2 separate regions of the Homo sapiens genome follow, and region 2 is linked to region 1. The links are contacts of gene promoters, found by promoter capture Hi-C in human tissues and cell types (Jung and others, 2019). All regions are on one chromosome and are shown on one strand. The core of a region is centred on a gene start or on the middle of the fragment in contact, and the rest is flanking DNA. Distances in the headings are between cores, read along the strand shown. Region 1 holds the start of SPATA16 (spermatogenesis associated 16). Region 2 overlaps SPATA16 (spermatogenesis associated 16).

The links. Contacts are between HindIII fragments. The study calls those that stand out against the background at their distance.
Region 2: a contact is called between a fragment that was not itself captured here and the fragment with the promoter of SPATA16 in region 1, in 2 of the 25 tissues and cell types used here (bladder and pancreas).

The regions. Positions count from the first base shown.
Region 1 is chr3:173,136,974-173,143,984 of GRCh38, reverse strand. It overlaps SPATA16 (spermatogenesis associated 16), which reads left to right and starts at 2,750. Exons shown (of 11, transcript NM_031955.6): 1 at 2,750-2,882. All of the region lies in intron 1 of LOC105374220 (a long non-coding RNA gene), which reads right to left. RefSeq lists an enhancer at 2,763-3,264. The HindIII fragment of the contact is 14,900 bases long and covers 1-4,685 here.
Region 2 is chr3:173,085,741-173,092,751 of GRCh38, reverse strand. The region is part of intron 2 of SPATA16 (spermatogenesis associated 16); the gene reads left to right. Among named protein-coding and RNA genes, the nearest start is that of SPATA16, 52 kb to the left of the region's middle. The HindIII fragment of the contact is 3,618 bases long and covers 2,300-5,917 here.

The DNA of each region.
Region 1 (7,011 bases), core at 1,501-4,000:
TGGAAAAGCAAAGAAATTAGAATATACAAAATACTTTTGGAAAAGAAGAACAAAGTTGAAGGATATGCACTATCTGAAATTAGAACTTTATAAAGCTATAGTAACCAGGACAGTGTGATATTGAAGAAAAAGCAAACATATAGATCAATAGAACAGACTAGAGAGTACAGAAATAGACTTGTGCATTGATTTTTCAACAAAGGTACAAAGGCCATTCAATGGAAAAAGGATGGTCTTTTCAACAAATGGTGCAGGAACAACTGGACCTCTATTTGCAAAAAGAAATTAACCTCAACTCATAACTTGCACCCCACACAAAAATTAAGTCATAAATGATCATATCGTAAATGTAAAACCTAAAAACTAGGAAGCTCTCAAATGAAAACTTAGGAGAAAAATCTTTGTGACTTGGGGTTAGAAAAAGATTTCTTAGACATAAAATCAAAGACACAAGCCATAAAAAAGGTAAATGAAATGTATCAAAGTTAGGACCTTCTACTCCTTGAAAGATGTGGCTTAGAGAATAAAGAGACAAGCACAGACTGGAAAAACATACTTAAAACACAAGTCTGATAAAGGGCTTATATTTAGAATAAAAGAAGTAATAAACCAAGTAAAAATAAACCAAGTAAAAAACCAAGTAATAAAACAATCCATTTATTTTAAAATGAGCAAAAGATTGGGCCAGGCACTTCAACAAAGAAGATATAAATGGCAAATAAGCACATGAAAATATACTCAATGTCATTTGCTATTAGGGAATGAAAATTAAAACCACAAGGAGACACCCAAAGGAAATATTATTTTTAAAATGAAAAGAAAATCTGACAAAACCAAGTGCTGGTGAGGATGTGAGAGTAACTGGAAATCTCATGTATTGCTGATGGGAAAGCAAAATGGTACAGAAATTTTGGAAAATAATTTGGCTGTTTCTTATGAAGTTAAACCCCATATGGCCCAGCAATCTGATCAGTAGGTATTTAAGTAAAGTAAAACTTAAATTTACACAAACATACGTATACAAATATTTATAGGAGCTTTATTCATGACCACCCCCAAATATTCCTCAACTAGTGAATAGATAAACTGTGGTATATGCACACAAATAGAACATTACTCAGCAATAAACAGGACTGAACTCCTGATAAACACCACAGCAATGTGAATCTCATATGTAATATGCTGAATGAAAGAAGTCTGATTCAAAAGACTACATGCTATATAATTCCATTTATTTGACCTTTGGAAAAGATAACACTAAAGGGACAAAAAACACATCAGTAGATGCCAGGGTGTGGAAATGATCCGCTGAGTTGACTACAGAGACATAGTGTTATTTTTATGGGTGAAAGTAATGTTTTAAATCTTGAATTGTGTGGCACTTACAATCAAAACTTGCAGAACTGTTTACTAGGTTAAAAAAATTTTTTAAGGAAGCAGAGCTTTGAAGGCAGGATGGAGATACATCAGTGAGAGGTAGTAGGGAGATTATGACTACTGCAGAGGGATTGAAAAGCCTGTTATCACACAGCAGAGGCTTCATGCACCTCATCTCAATCAATCCTTACACCTTACCTTGAAGCGTAGTTTCCCCGTTTTTTGCAGAGAGGTAGGAGAGAGTGGGGGTGGGAAAGTGTGAATAAGACAAACTTTTTACCCAAGAAGTGAAATTTAGTCATCATATTTAGTGTACTTTGTAAAAGATAGATTATACTACTGTAATCAATGGCAGCATAGAGTAGTAAAACCATAACTGGACTATTTTTATTATGTTCAAAAACAGACAAAACTAAACTGTGGTGTTAGAAACCACAACAGTCACTACCTACGGTGAATGAAAAGGAATGGAAATTAGAAGGGGTTTCTGGGGTGCTAAGAATTTAATTTTTTATTGAGGTGGTGGTTATTCTGATGGGTTCACGTTGTGATAATTTATTCAACACACTGCAGTTCATTCATTTTTCTGGATATATGTCATATTTCAATAAAAAGTGATGCATGTATGATTTGTTAAGCTATAAAGGAAAGCAAGGGATGTTTGTCATACAAGTCACAACAGTGGCTAGGAGGAAGACGCAGTCCTTAGGGGTACATAGATTTCTTCAAATGTATCAGTAATGTGCTGCCTAAAATGCATAGAAGGTAAAGTGCGTTTATGTTTAAATATACATAATTACATATATAACATAACATGTTATATAATATTATCATATAACATGTTAGTATAATACATGATACATTTGATATATAATATACATTTATATATTCTATATAATATACATATTTTACTCTAAAACATACATAGGTAGGAGCTTATGAGATCTCATAAATGGTTTTAGAGTAAAATGTTTAAAATAATTTTCTTTAAAAGAGAACAAATACAAAACTTTATAAAATGTATGTATAAAGTCTATATTGTATCTGTGTAGTTTTGTGTGAAAGAGACAGAATGGTATGATTTTTTTTTAATCTATTCATAGTAAAGAGACTGCAAAGATATACATGAAAATGTTTTCAGTGCTTCTCTTTAGAATACAGATAATTTTTATTTTATGTACATCTTTCTGTATCTTCCAGATTATTTTATTGATCATATTGCTTTTAGAATCTGAACGGAAAAATATAAATAACCTTGTTTTTATTATTGGAAACATCAAGTGCAACTCAAGAGGAAAGACTAGGGAGGTGCCAGTGACCCGCGCCACTTGTGGGCGCGATGGGCCTCGTGGCACGGGACGTTTCAAGTCCTGGCGTCCCCGCGAGCAAGCAGCCTGATCAGGCCTCGCAGTGGGACGTTGGGAAGCCGGTGTTGGCAGATGCTGTGGCTGGGAGGAGTCCAGAGCTTCGCCCTGTCCCCGCGGGGCTGAGCCACAACTGCTTAGGTAGGAGGAGAATCATTCAGGTCTGCCCAGTTAAAGCTTTTCTCGTTCAGTGGCTGGGTGGGAAGGAAGGGAGATGACCCTCAGGTGAAGATGGAGTAAGCTGGGAAAACAGGAGCTCCTTTCTTCCTGCCCACGCGAGGAATGAGGAATGTTGCTTATAAAAAGCCCTAATAAGTAACCAAGAAATCATCTCCTGCAGGCAGTTAGAAGACAGGTAGTTCCAAAGTGGTTCCCTGTCCGCTGCACCGGGTCACCCTATCCTTCCCCACTCTGGTGAGAAAGTAAAGACTAAGATCCCACTTGGTTTCCCAATAACAGATTTTTTGTTTTGTTTTGCTTTATTCTAATATATATTCCCTAATAAAGTGTATAGTTTGAGGACATCTTCTTGTAGTCAAGTGGGAGATGATGACTGCTAATTCAGAGTTCACATTTTATCATTTGTGATACGGGTTGTTGTCTCCTTAACGCATAATATTACTGTGGATTGAAGACATTGAACGTCAAGGAGTAGGATATTAGGGAGAGAAACAATCCAAGCTCCCTGTAAGACATAGACCATGTCATCATTTCTGTATCCTAACATCATGCCTGGCGTAAAATGCGTGCTCTGAAATGTTTGCTGTATGAATGAGTAAATGAATGAATGAATGTCTTTTACAAGGACCTTGCTGTTCAAAGGTTGTTCAGCGTGAGCAATTAAAAATAGGTTCCAGCTTTGTTTAAAATTTGCATTTTGGATTTATTACCCATAAAATATTAATAGATATCAGTAAAGTTCTCTGTTTTTGAAGCATCAGGGAAGTGTTTACCATTTTTAGTAAGACTTAGTTTGAAAGAAATGCATAAAAACTTTGTATTGTGTTTTTGTTCAACCCTTTATGATTAAGTTTCATGTACTAGCAGTATTATAACAGAAACTACCCTAATTTCATTAAGTTGTTCATCCTCTGAGCAGTGAAACTAGCACCTTGGAAATTGATTATGACTAAAAGAAAGCAACCAATGAGCATGAACTGTGAGATACAGAACCTTAAAATGATCTCCAGGCATAAACCCACAGTTAATCCTTACTGCAGGAGTTTGTTTGTTTGTTTGTTTGTTTGTTTGTTTGTTTTGAGACAGAGTCTTGCTCTGTCACCCAGGCTGGAGTGCCGTGGTGCCTTCTTGGCTCACTGCAACCTCTGCCTCCTGGGTCCAAGTGATTCTCCTGCCTCAGCCTCCTGAGTAGCTGGGATTACAAGCACACGCCACCACACCCAGCTAATTTTGTATTTTTAGTAGAGACATGATTTTGCCATGTTGGCCAGGCTGGTCTCAAAGTCCTGACCTCCAGTGATATGCCCACCTCAGTATCCTAAAGTGCTGGGATTACAGGCATGAGCCACTACGCCCGGCTATTCTTTCTAATTAAGACACACAGTGACTGAAGCTACATTCCTCTACATAGAATTTCACTGCATGTTGTGTTTTTGTTGTTGTTCCTTTTATGTGACACATCAGTTTGAAATAAATGAATAGGTACCCCAACAATTGTAGGCCATAGTAACAAAAGCAGTGCAAACACCATATGCTCAAGGGTTTTTAAATCCTTTTACATCAGAAAGCCTGGAGTATTGTCTTTCAACTAGTGTAGAATATGTTGAGTCATCTTCTTGGAAAGTAATGTTCAAGTTGTAACATTTTGCACTCACGAAGAGCTTGCTGAGTTTTTCAGGGATGTTATAAAATAAAATATTATAGCAGTCTAGCTTAAATATAGCAAAATAAAGACTAATTTATCATAGCTCTAGCTAAATTTCAAAATATATGCAATGAATGAGCATGAGCCATCTGTCTAATAGAAAGCATTTTTCTAATTGTCTAATTTTTAAAAAAATTGCTGAACAATAATAACAGCAATAACAAAAATGATGATAATGATAGAACAATAGTTAGCATTTATTGAGCGGTTACTGTTTTCAGGCAATCTTCCTATATTACTCTTCTCAACAATTACATGAGGCAGATATTATAATTAACTCCATTTTGCGAATAAGAAAACAGAACCCAATGGCTATGACTGATATCAGAATTCCAAATCCCTATATGATGGGGAAAATTATTATAAAATTACTGGAAGGTGAAGATTCAGCTTTAGCTTTACATTTTAGAAAGCCTCCAGGAGTAAATGTATTTGCATACTATATGATGTGATATACATTTATGTACACCTATGTACATCTATTCTGAAATGTGCAGAATTCATGTATTTGAACCACCAATATTTCACGATTTAGGCAACTTTGAAAGGTAATTGAGTTGACCTGATACAGGATAGGTGTTAGAAAGCGTCTCTTTAACCTTTATGAGTAGAAACTGAAGCTGAATTCACACTGTCATCTAGAATTGCACAAGAAGTGGAAAATTGACATGGTTTTAAGTAGGCCAGTTGAAAGGAAATGTTTCAGGAAGACTTGTATTATAATTACTGAATAGAAATCAGCTCCTGATTTCAATTTCTTTTCATAGATAAATTAGTTATTCTGTCTTGCTGTTTATTTTAGATTTACCTAAATAAGTTGTGCATGTGCCTTTCAAACATAAACATTATTATATGGAATCAAAGTTAAGGAAGATTAATATCTTACAGAGGAAGGGAATTGTATATAACTCTGAGCTGATGTTTTTAAAATGTTTGAAAATATAGAGTTGAAAATATTGGCCTCACTTTTCTTTAGGGACCTTTAGCTCGTTACTTATTAGGAAGATAGCTCCACATCTTAGCTTAAAAGTTACTGGCACTCAACCTGGTCTGTATTTCTCTGCCAGAATAACTTTCCTTAGGAAATTCCACATTGTGGGTGTTCATCTGATTTCACATGCATGAATGCTTCAGTGCTCTCCCACTGGTTCTCAATTAAATTCCTATTAGCCAGCATAACTCAGGCAGAAGAATTCAATGCTGTCTTGAACGATCACCGAAGTTATAGCTTGAGAAGACATTGCATTATCACCCCCCCACCAAGAAAAAAAGTATGCATTTAACTTGTTAGAAATCAGCTCAATTTTGTTAACTTGAAGATGTAAGGAGCAAAAACATGATATAAATCACTTCTCATTCCTGTTGAACAGACATTTGGAAACCTAAGTTTAAGGTGAAGAAAGAAAGGATTGCAGTAGTCCTCTCTAACATACATTCCCAGACCTAATACATCTGGTCTCTTCTTTAGGGAGACGTGTGTGTGTCTGTGTGTGTGTGTGTGTGTGTGTGTGTGTGTGTGTGTGTGTGTGTGTGTGTTGAGAGTCCATGGGATCCCCCTCAGAGCAGAAGATAATGGAGGAATAAACACACAGAAGGCTTCTGAACCTTCTTAGGTATTGGGGCCAAGGCTTAATTAAAGGCTTTCAAAAGTTCCGATCTCTCAGTTAACTTCCTCACCCTTTATATTTACTGATGTAGTTAACAGTGAAGAAGCATCATGTTAAATATGAGAGTCATTACCAGATTGAAAGAAAAGACTTGAAATACATTGAAATTGACACCATTTATGAATGTAGAAAAGGAGGAAGTTTTAGTGTTCATAGAAGCTTTATCTTCTGCAGCTGCCATTTCTTTTCCTGTTTTCCTCCCATAGATCCCGCCTTCCATGGACCTTTCTGTGACTCTGTTGTTATAGAATTTGTCTAACATCGTGGTCATCTGATTTTGTTCTTTCTTATCTTTCAGTAGCAGGTGATCATTTCTGTTCTCCACCTATCCTTCTACCACCCTAATTCGCAATATTTTTTATTCTTCCAGATCTTTCACATCCACAATATTCCTTCAAGATAATGGGATGGGGTTGGGATATAATGGGCGGGAGGTGCCATTTGAAAAGAATCCCTCAGAGCCTGATTCATCTCTTCCTCTAGGCTTCAGAGTGCTGCTTCTTTCTGGGACATTCCCACCTGGAGGTGTTGCCCTAAACTGGTATAAGCTGATTTAGATGTACAGTGATGGCAGAGGCAGATTTATTTTGATAGCAGAACTTATCAGGCAAGCTCTTTAGACCCCATTTCTACTAATGTTGAAATGTGGGAATGTAGAGAGGGATTATTTAAACTTTCTCATCAAATACAATTCAGTAGTGTTTTTAAATGGGTTCTT
Region 2 (7,011 bases), core at 2,859-5,358, 53 kb after region 1:
AAATTTAGTGGCTAAAACAATACAGTTTATTATCTTACAGTCCAAAATGGGTCTCACTGGGCTAAAATCAAGGTGTTTGCAGGGTTAAATTCCTTGGGTAGACTCTAGGGGAGAATCTGGGTTTTGGCTTTTTCCAGCTTCTAGGGACCATCTATAATCTTTGGCTGTTGGACCCTTCCTCCGTCTTCAAAGCCAGTTTGACACTGACTCTTCTGTATCTCTATTTCACATTCAAAGAAACTTTGTGATTATATTGAGCCCACTCCAATAATCTAAAATAATCTGTTTATCTGATTAACAACCTTAATTCTATGTGCAGCTTTCATTCTCCTTTGCCATGTTGCATAACGTAGCCACAGGTTCCAGGGAGTAGGATATAGACATCTTTGAGGAGACATTATTCTGCCTACCACAGCCTCTGGCTAATGCAGAACACTTTGTGCTAAATTGCTTTCTTCTCAATTACTGGCTTGTCAAGAACTGTGAAGACTATGAGATATTACTTGACTTGCAAGCTGACAAAATAGCTTGCCAGAGTTCATGGATGGCAGTATTTAAGAGATAGAAACTCCTGGGTCACAAAGAATATTATTGCTGATGGCACCACAAGCAGTATGAGCATCAGCATATTTGCATCAATTCTGCTTATCCCACAGGGCTGATCCAGATGGGTCTTGATGAATGGTTGCACACAACAAGGATTGTGCAGGAGAGGAACTTCAAGCTTAGGTAACCTAGATCTTTTATAGTGGGCAGTAAGCATGCCTGTCCTTTTTTATGGAGGGAGACACTACCTGCCTCTTCCCAGGCTATTCTCTATATAAATATTCTGGAAAAGATAATCTAGAACAAAGGGTGGTTACTGTCTTGTTGACAAGACATGCAAAAGCTATAAAGACCCATGGAAAATTATGCTGCATCTTTATTTTATAAATAACCTGGCCTATAGTTTCTCAAACGTAGGGGCTAGTTCCTTCAAAATCATTTGAAAATCAATTGGTTTTATATGAAAAGATTTGATTTCCTCTCTTCAAATACCATTTTTCCACCTTCTTGTTCAACTCAACCTTCATTTATTAATACATTTCATTTAAACATTTTTCTAGCACTTAGAAAAATGTCTTGCAAGTGTTCCTTATTACTGTCTTATCATTGGACAATTCTATATGAAAATATGTTGACTTTTTGGCTACAAAAGACAGCTTGACCTCACTTTACAATGAGGAAACAAATATTAGCAAATTCATTAATTAGGGTCCTGATACAAACAGATAATTATGAAGAAAAACCAAGAGCCAATATTAACTTGATGTGAAATGTCAGTAAGAAGTGGAAAGCAGACAAAATAATTTCTACACATTAAATCCAAACCTATTGGAAGAGCAAGTAATGACTGCAGCAAGTTAAAAAAAAAAGTCAAATAAATTAATGATTATATTTGACATTAAAAGTATAAACATTTATGAATTTACTAATAGGTCTATTCTCTCTTCTTACTGACATTAGTCTACTAAGTTAAAGCTACTGCTTACATATGTTTTTAGTTTTAAGGACAAAGAAGGTTACAAGAAAAATATTAAGCTATCTAATGATAAAAAAGGAGCTAGGTCAGAAGAAAAAAGAAATATGCCCTATCATCTTTGTGCAGAAGTGATGGTGGTAGACATATATCAGAAAGACATATTCTTTGAGCAACTTTTTTTTTCCCAGAAGCTGTAATATGTAAGGTGAGTTGTCAATGTCCTCCCACCTAATAGGCCTGAAACCAACATTAAGATGTCAGATCAAGGGAAAGTTAGCAGTCTTTATTCAAAAAAGAGAGGTGCCCAGAAGCAAACTAAATTGTATTTATACTCTACATGTGTAGTGATTACATGCAATCTTGCCACTCTTCTGGTCCCATTCATGGCTCAGAAAAACTGAAGTAAAGCACCGTCTCTACTTTTACCATATCCTTGTGTTATCACAGATCATTGGTCCTATGTTAAATGTATCCATTTGAATATACTGGCAAAGAAGCACTTAGGAGTTGCCAAGGAGCATGACAAACTGCAGCAGCTTTTCTTGACAGGTAAAATGCTACCGCAATTCAGTGGAAGGCATTTAGGAACTGCAATCAGAAAACCTGCATTTTCAATCTGGCTCCCCCTCAGCTGATGTCTGTGAGCTTTAAGCTTCAATTTCCTCATTTGCAAAAAAAGGATAAAATTATGTTACCCTATTTCTGATCTCAGGGTGATGCAGTATTTGTGGAAGCGCCAAACTCATAAATGTAAGACTTTAGCATCATTCCATTCTTGCATTGCTGTAAAGAAATACCTGAGACTGGGTAATTTATTGGAAAAGAGGTTTAATTGGCTCACAGTTCTGCAGGCTGTACAGGAAGCATACCAGGCATTGGCTTCTGGGGAAGCCTCTGGAAGCTTACAATTATTGCAGAAGGTGAAAGGGGATCAGGCACATCACATGACAAAGCAGGAGTAGGGTGGGGTGAGGGAGGTGCTACACACTTTTAAACAGTCTCATGACAAGCCACTCACTATCATGAGAACAGTGCCAAGAGGAATGGTGCTAAACCATCCATGAGAAATCTGACCTCATGATCCAATCAGCTCTCACCAAGCCCTACTTTCAACATTGGGATTTACATTTCAGTATGACAGTTGGATAGGGACACATCCAAACTATATCAACATTTTTTCTGGGATTTCTTCCTCTTTGTTTTATTTTGTTTCAGAATTTTCTTTGAGGTAGTTCTTTAGCACCTGTTAAAAGCAGGCTTTTTAGTAGAAAACAGTATCCAGTTGAAAAACAAGAAGTGTGATTATAATCCACAATTTACAACACGCTCAAGTCAGAATTCCTGAGCAGTTGTCATAATCTCAGCCACGGCTTAGGCCCTGTCTTCCAGTAAGGGCCCATGTGCTGAGTCCTGGAGGAGTAGTGCTTCCGCAGTTTACCAGCACCTTCCCGTTTCCTCCTGCCTGGTGTTCCAATCCCTTCCTTCATCCCCATTATTTCCAATTCAGTGCTTTTCTCACTCCACATCTCAACAAGGTTCACCATAAGAAACACCTTACAAGGTACAGCTCCTTGTCCTCGTCGTTCACATTCCTGACACAATCCACCACCACCATGTCTTCAGGTCCCCTCAAGTCACAGGCTCCCCTTTTCAGGGCCTCCTCTGGTTCATTTTCCCGCAGAAGCTAATGGGCCCTTATCCGTATCTTCACTGACTGCTGTCACTGATAACAGGCAATCATGCACTCCATTACAGCTGTTAACTCCTCACAGTCACTGCCTCATCCGCTTCCCAGTTATTTCCTGAAGTTTCCTTTCAGGTACCAATTTCCTCAGCCATCCTCAGATAAGAACATTTGTATAGTGAAGCTAAAATAAACTTGCAGAAGCCATTTGATGTGGCCTCCTGCCTCTGGAGGAGAAGGAAGTGCACCACAGAGGACGCATGTCTTCACATCAGTGTTTCCTCTACCTTCCATTCACAACCAGAGAGAATTATTACTCTGAAATAAGTTCTTCCCCTAGACCCAAACCAATTCTCTATGGATGTATTCTGAGCCATATTTTCCCTCTTTGATCTTCTCTGGAGAACCTATCTCTTATTTAGGCATGAGAAATCGGGGATCTCAAAGTTCAAGGGTCACCTGGTCCAACTACACATCTGCTTTATAAAATACCATCCCAGCCAGTGGGTCATACAGCAGGAAAGGGAATTCAGTTCATTCTGGGGTGGTCCGTTCATCCTTGGACAGCTTTGACCAGGAGAAATGTTTAACCTGAATTCACCAAAATCTGCCTTCCAGAATATTCCATGCTCTGTTTATAATCCCAGCCATCACAACAGCTTCAGTGTTCAATACCATCTCATTTCTTCCCCAGCCCTTGCACATGCTCCTACAACACAGTAGGCTTTTAAGAAACATTTGTTGAGTGAGTAAATGAATGTTTATGTTCTTGCCTATGGGAAGGCACTTTGTACCTAGGACATCCATGAAATATAATCTGAGTTTTCTCCAGGCTAGAAGTCCTTAGCTCCTTTACTCATTTTTCACAAGGTAAGTTTCAAATTTAATACCTATACAGTTCCTTTCCTCTGATTTTTTTCCAGCATGTCTAAATCCATCTTGGTAAACAACCAAAAAAATTAAACATACACAAAAAAATACATTTATGTATATACAAATCTATATAATCATAAGTGTGTATAAAATTCAGCTTAAATACACACATATGTGTAAAAATTCCATATAAAATATGTTTCTAAATAAAGCTACATCAAGGTATACAGCATGAGTAAACAAAAACAAATTAAAATAAGTATCATTAACTTATAAAACTATGCTTTGGCGACCAAGTGCAGTGGCTTACACCTGTAATCCCAGCACTTTGGGAGGCCAAGGTGGTCGGATCATGAGGTCAAGAGATAGAGAGCATCCTGGCCAACATGGTGAAACCCCGTCTCTACTAAAAATACAAAAATTAGCTGGGCATGGTAGTGCACACCTGTAGTACCAGCTACTTGGGAGGCTGAGGCAGGAGAATTGCTTGAACCTGGGAGGCGGAGGTTGCAGTGAGCTGAGATCACACCACTGCAGTTCAGCCTGGCAACAGTGCAAGACTCCATCTCAAAAAAAAAAAAAAAAGAAAAGACAGAAAGAAAGAAAGAAAGAAAGAAAGAAAGAAAGAAAGAAAGAAAGAAAGAAAGAAAGAAAGAAAGAAAGACGGAAAGAAAATGCTAATCATCAGATTCTCCAAGGTCAAATTGGAGAAAAAAATATTAAGGGCAACCAGAAAGAAAGGTCAAGTCATCTACAATGGGAAGCCCATCAGACTAACAGCAGACCTCTCCGTGGAAACCCTACAAGCCAGAAGAGATTGGAGGCCAATATTCAACATTCTTAAAGCAAAGAATTTCCATCCCAGAATTTCATATCCAACCAAACTAAGCTTCATAAGGGAAGGAGAAATAAAATCCTTTTCAGACAAGCAAATGCTGAGGAAATTCATCACCACCAGGCCTCCCTTGCAAGAGCTCCTGAAGGAAGCACTAAATATGGAAAGGAAAAACCAGTACCAGCCACTACAAAAACACAATGAAGTACACAGACCAATGACACGATGAAGCAACTACATTAACAAGTCTGCAAAGTAACCAGCTAGCATCATGATGACCGGATCAAATTCACACATAGCAATATTAACCTTAAATGTAAATGGGCTAAATGTGCCAATTAAAAGACACAGAATAGCAAGCTGGATAGAATTAAGACCCATCAGTGTGCTGTAATCAGGAGACCCATCTCACATACAAAGACACACATAGGCTCAAAATAAAGGGATGGAGGAAACTTTACCAAGCAAATGGAATGCAGAAAAAAGCAGGGGTTGCAACCCTAGTTTCTGATGAAATAGACTTCAAACCAACAAAGATCAAAAAAGACAAAGACGGGCATTGCATTAATGTAATGGGCTCAATTCAACAACAAAAGCTAACTATCCTAAATATATATGCACCTAATACAGGAGCACCCAGATTCATAAAGCAAGTTCTTAGAGACCTACAATGAGACTTAGAGTCCCACACAGTAACAGTGGGAGACTTCAACACCCCACTGTCAATATTAGATCATCAAGACAGAAAATTAACAATGATATTCAGGACTTGAACTCAGCTCTGGATAAAGGGGACCTGGCAGATAGCTACAGAAATCTCCACCCAAAAACAACAGAATATACATTCTTCTTGGCTCCACATGGCATTTGCTCTAAAATTGATCACATTATTGGAAATAAAACACTCCTCAGCAAATGCAAAAGAGCTGAAATCATAAGTCTCTTAGACCACAGCACAATCAAATTAGAACTCAAGATTAAGAAACTCACTCAAAACCATGCAACTACATGGAAATTGAACAACCTGCTCCTGAATGACTTCTTAAATAATGAAATTAAGGCAGAAATTAAGAATTTCTTTGAAACTAATGAGAACAAAGAGACAGTGTACCAGAATCTCTGGGACACAGCTAAAGCAGTGTTAAGAGGGAAATTTATAGCACTAAATGCCCACATCAGAAAGCTAGAAAGGTCTCAAATTGACATCCTAACATTGCAACTAACAGAACTAAAGAACCAAGAGCAAACAAACCATAAAGCTAGCAGAATACAAGAAATAACCAAAATCAGAGCAGAACTGAAGGATATAGAGACATGAAAAACCCTTCAAGAAATTTATGAATCCAGGAGGTGGCTTTTTGAAGAAAATAATGGAATAGATAGACTACTAGCTACATTAATTAAGAAGAAATGAGAGAAGAATCAAATAGACATCATAGAAAACCATAAAAGGGATATCACCACTGACCCCAAAGAAATACAAACAATTGTCAGAGAGAATACTATAAACACCTCTAACCAAATAAACTGGAAAGTCTAGAAGAAGAAATGGATAAATTCCTAGATACATACACCCACCCAAGGTTGTACCACGAACAAGTTGAATTCCTGAATAGACAAATAACAAGTTCTGAAATTGAGGCAGTAATAGTCTACCAAGCAAAAAAAGCCCAGGACAAGGCAGATTTACAGCTGAATTCTACCAGAGGTACCAAGAGGAGCTGGTACCATTTTTTCTGAAATTATTCCAAACAATTGAAAAGGAGGGACTCCTTCCTAACTCATTTTATGAGGCCAGCATCACCCTGATACCAAAACCTGGCAGAGATACAAAAAAAACAAAAGAAAGAAAGAAAGAAAGAAAATTTCAAGGTCAATATCCCTGATGAACATCAATCCAAAAATCCTCAATAAAATCCTGGCAAACTGAATCCAGCAGCACATCAAAAAGCTTATTTACCACGATCAAGTTGGCATTATCCCTGGGATGCAAGGCTGGTTCAACATATGCAAATCAATAAACGTAATTCATCACATAAACAGAACTAAAGACAAAAACCATATGATTATCTCAATAGATGCAGAAAAGGTATTCAA